Linked DNA regions of Homo sapiens: region 1 is linked to region 2. The links are contacts of gene promoters, found by promoter capture Hi-C in blood cells and fetal thymus (Javierre and others, 2016). All regions are on one chromosome and are shown on one strand. The core of a region is centred on a gene start or on the middle of the fragment in contact, and the rest is flanking DNA. Distances in the headings are between cores, read along the strand shown. Region 1 has its middle 18 kb from the start of RPL22L1. Region 2 holds the start of SAMD7 (sterile alpha motif domain containing 7).

Region 1 (3,456 bases), core at 420-2,919, 940 kb after region 2:
TTCCTAGGGTTTCCCCCACACCAGACATCAGTCTCTTTCAACTAATATATTTTACATGTTACTTTCAGCCTTCATCATTTCATTCCCCAACATACACATCTCTGTTTCAATTTCTTCCTTACTCTCACTCCACTCTAATTTTTCAAACTTTTCCTCCAATGTTCCCCATACCCTTCCACTCATGCCATGTACTATAGCTCTATTTCCTCCTGCTCATACCTTTCTGCTTTGAAGAAGTGGAAAAAACAGGCTGTGGAATCAGACCAATTGCAAGTGGTTCCAATTCCAGCTTTGCTATTTAGTCATTCTGAGTCTCAATTACTTCATTTATAAAATGTATCAGTAGAAAATAAGATAATATATTTAAAGCACCTGGTGCTACATCTTGTGCATAGTACTGAACCAACCCTTTATAGTCTCTCTGTCAGCACCACACAATCTTGATTACTATAGCCATTTTTCACACCATTTAGAAGAGAAAAGCTTTAATTCTAGAAGTACTTAAGTAGACATTCTGCTATACTAATTTTATACACAAATAAGCTGTGTCTTCCTTGTTTAAGGTATTTGAGTAAGAACAGTTATAATCAAAGGTCAATTTATCCTGAATTTATTTTAAAGATACCTCCCTCTTGAGGGCATTACTATATATGACTCAGTATACTGTGAACTTGAGCACCGTGATATATATATTACTGGGTGGAAATGGAGGTAAACTAGTACAGACATCTTGGAGGACAATTTGGCAACATCTATTAACATTTAAAAACCCATGAGCATAAAGACTGTACAAAAACTGTACAAAAACTGTAAACTGCCTAAATTTCCAGCACTAAGTGACCAGGCAAATAACACACAGTAAAACACACAATAAAATAACATGTTACTACTAAAAATGGAAAAATCTATATATACTTACATGGATTATATCCAAGACATATCTGCATAGACATACTTGTACACACATAAAATAAAAATACCTTCAGATGAATGCTGGTAATAGTCATTGTCTTTGAGAGAAGAAACGGGTCAGTAGGCTTCAGGGAAAGGAAGGAATACTTTTCACTGTGTACTCTTTTACAATAGAAACTGATTTTTAAACCACCTATATGCATTATATATGCATATATAATATTTAAATTATATATAAAATTTTTGAAATAGGACTTACACATAGAAAGTGAACAAATCATAAGTGTTAAGAACATCTTTTTAATAAAGTTAACATACCCACCTACAAAACACTCATATCAAGGAGAAAAGCATTACCAGTATATGTTTACAGGAAAATTCTGGTATTAATTTACCTTTACTACTTCAGTATGTATATCAAAACAAACTAAAAAATAACAGTAATATCATAATCACACTGAGTAAAATGAACAATAGTTAGGTTTTAGAATATGTAATGCTTATATTTTTTAATACCCAGTTCATGTTCAATTATCTTTGCTTATCTCAAAAATATCTATTTGCATTTGGTTTGTTTGGATCATTTTCCAAAAAGTCCCCATATTACATATGGTGATTTTTCTCTTAAATCTCTTTTGTTCTATAACTGGCCCACCCTCTTCTGTTAATGCTATTTCTTTGTCATTGGAGAAACTGGTCATTTATCTTGTAGAATCTCTTACATTCTGGAATGGCTGATTAAATCCTCCTGGTATCATTTAATATGTTCTTTACCCACTGCATCTTTTGTAAACCATCAGTTAGATCTAGAAACTCATATGCTTTCTTGAGTTGGTAAATAAAAGTACTCTATGATCCACTACATTTGAGCAAAGCTACATATTTGGGGGAACCGATGCATGGAGAGTCACAAAGACCTGAAAAATTCCCAAAGCAAATAAATGTTTAGTTTGCTTAACTGTCCATTTCCCATGTGTTATTTTGTTGTTACTGTACTACTTACTATGTTCACATGGAACTACAGTCCTGTTTTATGCACTTTGATAAACACTGGAGCAAAAGATCTGTATGGTCTTCTCAAAATCCTATGACTTTTCATGGTATGAGACATATTGGCTGGGCACAATGGCTCACTCCTGTAATCCCAGCACTTTGGGAGGCTGAGGCAGGAGGATCCTTGAGCCCACAAGTTCAAGACCAACCTGGGGGATATAGCGAGACCTCATCTCTACAAAAAAAAAAAAAAAAGAGAGAGAGAGAGAATAAAAATTAGCTGGGTTTCATGGCACATACTTGTAGTCCCAGCTACTTGGGAGGCTGGGGTGGGAAGATCCTTGAGTCCAGGAAGTGAAGGCTGCAGTGAACTGTGATCTGCACTCTAGCCTGAGTGAGACAGCGAGACCCTGTTTCAAAAAAAAAAAAAGAGAGACAGAAAGAGACATACTGCAGATGCTCATAAAAGTTCGCTGATTGATTAATCCAGCAGTCACGTGTTGTGTTTTCTATTTATAGTGTACTGTACTCGAAACCACTATTCCTGTCCTTAAGAAATAAGATTGAGTTGATAAATCAGCATGTGTTCAGGCAATAAACTCACATGCTTATTTAAAGCATATGGCAGTTTAAAAAAAAAATCCACTGTATGTGTTGTGGATTTATGGAGTGGCCTGTTGGGTTTCATGAGGAAAGCTCCAAAAGAGAGGTCAGCCTTGGAGTACATCAACAAGCATTCACAGCAAGTCAGACCTGGAAACACACACACACACACACACACACACACACACACACACACACACACACAGAGCGAGAGAGAGAGAGAGAGACAGAGAGAGAGAGAGAGAGAAACAGAAATCTGCTGGTTTAATCTCTTAATTTATAGAAAACAGGAAGCCTAAGGACAGGAAAGGATTCTTATAGCTGATGAGACCCAGACATTCCTGCTGGTAAGCTTAGTGCACTCCCTTAGTAGGTCCAATTCAAGATTATTTTTTTGTAGGTAAACTGTTTTGTTTTGTTTTCTCTTCCCTCTGGAAGCTTTTGGGATTTTCTTTTTATCCTTTGGAGTACTGAAACTTCTTCAGGAAGTTATGAGCTTTTCCCTTCATCCTACCTGGCCTACCTCGCAATATGAGGATCCAGATTTTCTTGGGCGGAGGGAAACTTTCTTCTGCTACTTGCATATCTGTCCTGGGTCACTTGTTTTAATTTGTTCATTCCAATCATTTTCTTTGATACTGTTGGTTCTACTCATTTTGAGTGAACCTTGGTTGCCTTTCTACATTTATGAATGAAAGGTAATGTTACTAATTATCTGACTTGGGATTCTTTTGTAGTTATATGGATTTGCTTACCCAGAAAGGCACACAGAGATAAATTTGACCTGGTTTTTAGCCTCGAAGTATTTACAGTCTAGTGAGGGAGGAAAACAAATAAACCAAAAATTCTGTCAAAGTGTCAGAATGTTTATGATATAGCTTAAACAAAAAGGCAGTGGTATTAGTTTGTGTACCAGGGAATTCCAAGGTGTGTACCTCCTCCAACTTC
Region 2 (3,437 bases), core at 546-3,045:
TCTCTACTAAAAATACAAAAAAAAAAAAATTAGCTGGGCATGGTGGCGGGCGCCTGTAGTCCCAGCTACTCAGGAGGCTGAGGCAGGAGAATGGCGTGAACCCGGGAGGTGGAGCTTGCAGTGAGCTGAGATCACGCCACAGCACTCCAGCCTGGGTGACAGAGTGAGACTCTGTCTCAAAAAAACAAACAAACAACAACAACAAAAAAAAACAAAAACTGTATGCATAAATATTATAAATGCTAATAATTTATGAGACACTTCAAAATGCATATACAACACAAGAAAGACAGTTTAGTAAAAATTAGGGCAAAGGGAAAATAATGTTAGGAAAAATAAGATGAAGCCATAGATCATTTCTGGTTTTAAAATGCATGTCTAGGCTGGGCATGGTGGCTCACGCCTATAATCCCAGTACATTGGGAGGCCGAGGTGGGTGGATTGCTAGAGTCCAGGAGTTCAAGACCAGCCTAGGCAACATGGCGAAAGCCTGTCTCTACAAAAAAATACAGAAAAAAAATTAGCCAGGCATGCGGTCGTGCACCAGTGGTCCCAGCTACTTGGAGGCTACGGTGGGAGGATTGCTTGAGTCTGGGGACATAGAGGCTACAGTGAGCCATGATTGTGCCACTGCACTCTAGCCTGGGTGGCAGAGCAAGAACTTGTCTCAAAAATAAATAAATAAAAATATAATAAAATGCATGCCTAAAGGCAGGTCCTGAACTTCCTACTAACCAACACAAAGAATGCAACACACTAGTTACGTGATTCCTGAGGTTTTATTTTGGCCTTATTTTTCAGAACAACAACAACAACAATAACAACAACAAAACAATTGTCCCTAGTACTACAAGCTGAGAAAAATTCCTCCCATGGATCCTCAACAGAGGACTCTGTGCAATATAGTTACCTAACATAATGGCTAATGTTTAGTGAGAACTATTCAAGCATTTTGTCTACCTTGTTGCCTTCCCTTTCCCAAGAAGGGCTCTTCTGAGATGAGGAAACTAAGGCTCAGAGAAGTTCAGTAACTTGGCCAGGCCATACAGCTAATGAGTGGTGGTGCTGAGGCTTATTGAGTCTGTTGGTCATCTAAGTCCCTGCTGTTGACCACTGCTTTATGAACAATAACCCTGGAATAAATACAGTCAGTTCCACATGCTATTTCTTATAATGAGTTCAACAGCCAATGATAAAAATGTGTGTCAACAAAGGAGCAGGTTACCTTCAAACTGGAAGCCTAAAGCATTACTTGAAACACAACTTAAATTTCTTATATTCAATTCTTATTTTGTACTTCCTACTAGTAAATTACTAGGAATCAAAAAATATGGATGTTCTTTTTCAAGCTATAAATGTTTCTCTAGCAAATATAACAGGTCACATTTTCAAAATTCCGTGTTTTCCCTCTTATATAGATCACAGCTCTCACACAGATGATAAAGGGTTTTCTCACTGCCTGTGAGAATTAAAGTACAGTTGTCCATTATAGAAGCTTCTTTTTAAAATAGACTGCCATCTTTCATCAAATGTTTCAGCTCTGTGGAAAATAACTTAGGTTTTTTCCTACTCGCAAAAGAAATGTTTCCACTTGAAACCTGTTGGAAATATGGAATAGGCTATATAGTTCCATCAAAGAAAAGCTTATTACTTATTTGCATAGTATATTTCTTTTGTGTCAAGTTGAACAGTGGTATTAAGTGAATGCCCACAAAGCATCTTAAAGGCTAAGGAAGGATTACACTAAAGGCTAAGCTCTGAGACAGGTTTATGCACCTTGCAGGGCACTTTCCTTGGGCTTAACATCTTTTAGCCTATCTGTAGAGGATATCAGAGGGCAAAGTTTCTGTCATGAAATAGGACTAATCAACTTAGTTGAATTTGTATTTAAAGCAAGGTTAAACTGAATTAAGACCATTTTTGAAAGAATTGTCAGATGTACCTTTCAACCCGCAGCCAGAGAAGCTTCTGCAGTTGAAGGCCAGAAAGTCTTTGTATGGTTCTTCCATCTGCAATATCAAAGACAAGAAGTCTTCATAGAGGATGTAAGTATGTAACTCTACACATTGATTAGCCCAAAATTGAGGCCAGTTACTCTGAGTAAAATGTTTCACATATAAAATAAAAGGACATCTTTATCTTAAAGGAAATGCTTAGGTTTATGTGTAGACTTTACTGGCTATTACTAACAGTATGTGAGCTAATAAATTCCTACTTGACTGAAGTTACTAACGAGTAAAGATGATATACCACTCCTACCAAATAAACACTGCCTGGTCTTAGTTTTTGGAGTTTTTTAAGTGAAAGTAAAATGAAGTTTATTTAAGATAAAGTCAGTTCAAAGTTGTATGTAAATTTACTGTAGTTTTATTATCTTCAAACAGATGAAGTACCTACCTCTATGTATTACTGCTGTTTATTTACTATATATTATTATTTTAATGGCCCCCCATTACTATAGATATCTATATTCCAAAAATTGTCATGATGTATGAACCATGAAATGTCAGAGTAGAAAATTTCAGAAAAACATTGAGGAACAATCAATGATAATCATGAAATAAAATCTATATTGATATTCCTTAATTCATTCTTTAAGACTATCTAACTAAAACACCTACTATTCAGTTCCATTATATGAGTACTGCTAGAATTTCACTTTAGTCTCTACAGATTTATATATAATGGACTTTGCTTCACAATCTTTTGAAGAAAGTGAACATAATTTATACAAACTGTAGTTGCACATAAATTATATTGAGTCCAGTAGAAATTACATAATTTTGACTTCTTTAATGATGTCAAAGGTTTACCTTTTTCTTTACAATACTTGTAATTGTGCCTAGAACCTGACATTTCAAGAAGACATGGATAGGTCTAATGAAAATGAGCTTCCAGAGTAAAAAGAAATAAGAAGTGACAGCAGCCAGCACGTAACCCACTGTCTTCAATGCTTTCCAGGGTATGTGCTATGGTGAAATGCAGTTAGAAAAGTCCTAAAGCTTATGCCTTTAGGAAAAGTGAAATACATTTTAGCAGCACTGCCAAGTGCTTCGGTATGAACTGTCTTTCTAAAGTTCTCCTCCGTCCTTGGCAGAGATGGGAAGGGGAGCAAGATATGGAGGGACCCAGGAGAAGGCCTATTTGGGTTGTGCTCAGAGAGAGTTGGAGGAGATGGACTACAAAGGCCTCTGCAAAACATAAGTAGGAGGAATTACTTTGGAGTTGTTGGGGTACTGCCTAAGAGAAGGCCAAGAAAACTCGCAAGAAGCCAGGCCTGAATTGTAAAAATTGCTCTCATTTTAATTTAAGAATTTACATCTATTTATCTTACATTTATTTATCTCAGAACTGTGGAAACATTTAATTCTACTGATCTACTTTTCACATACAAAAACTTACCAGATACAGCAGTTACTTAAAAATTAATTCATTTT

The links. Contacts are between HindIII fragments. The CHiCAGO score rates a contact against its expected background, and 5 or more counts as called.
Region 1: a contact is called between a fragment that was not itself captured here and the fragment with the promoter of SAMD7 in region 2, in 1 of 17 cell types (total B cells). The highest score is 5.5, in total B cells.

The regions. Positions count from the first base shown.
Region 1 is chr3:170,850,037-170,853,492 of GRCh38, forward strand. No RefSeq gene overlaps it. Among named protein-coding and RNA genes, the nearest start is that of RPL22L1, 18 kb to the right of the region's middle. The HindIII fragment of the contact is 2,377 bases long and covers 482-2,858 here.
Region 2 is chr3:169,909,777-169,913,213 of GRCh38, forward strand. It overlaps SAMD7 (sterile alpha motif domain containing 7), which reads left to right and starts at 1,796. Exons shown (of 9, transcript NM_001304366.2): 1 at 1,796-2,045. The HindIII fragment of the contact is 322 bases long and covers 1,642-1,963 here.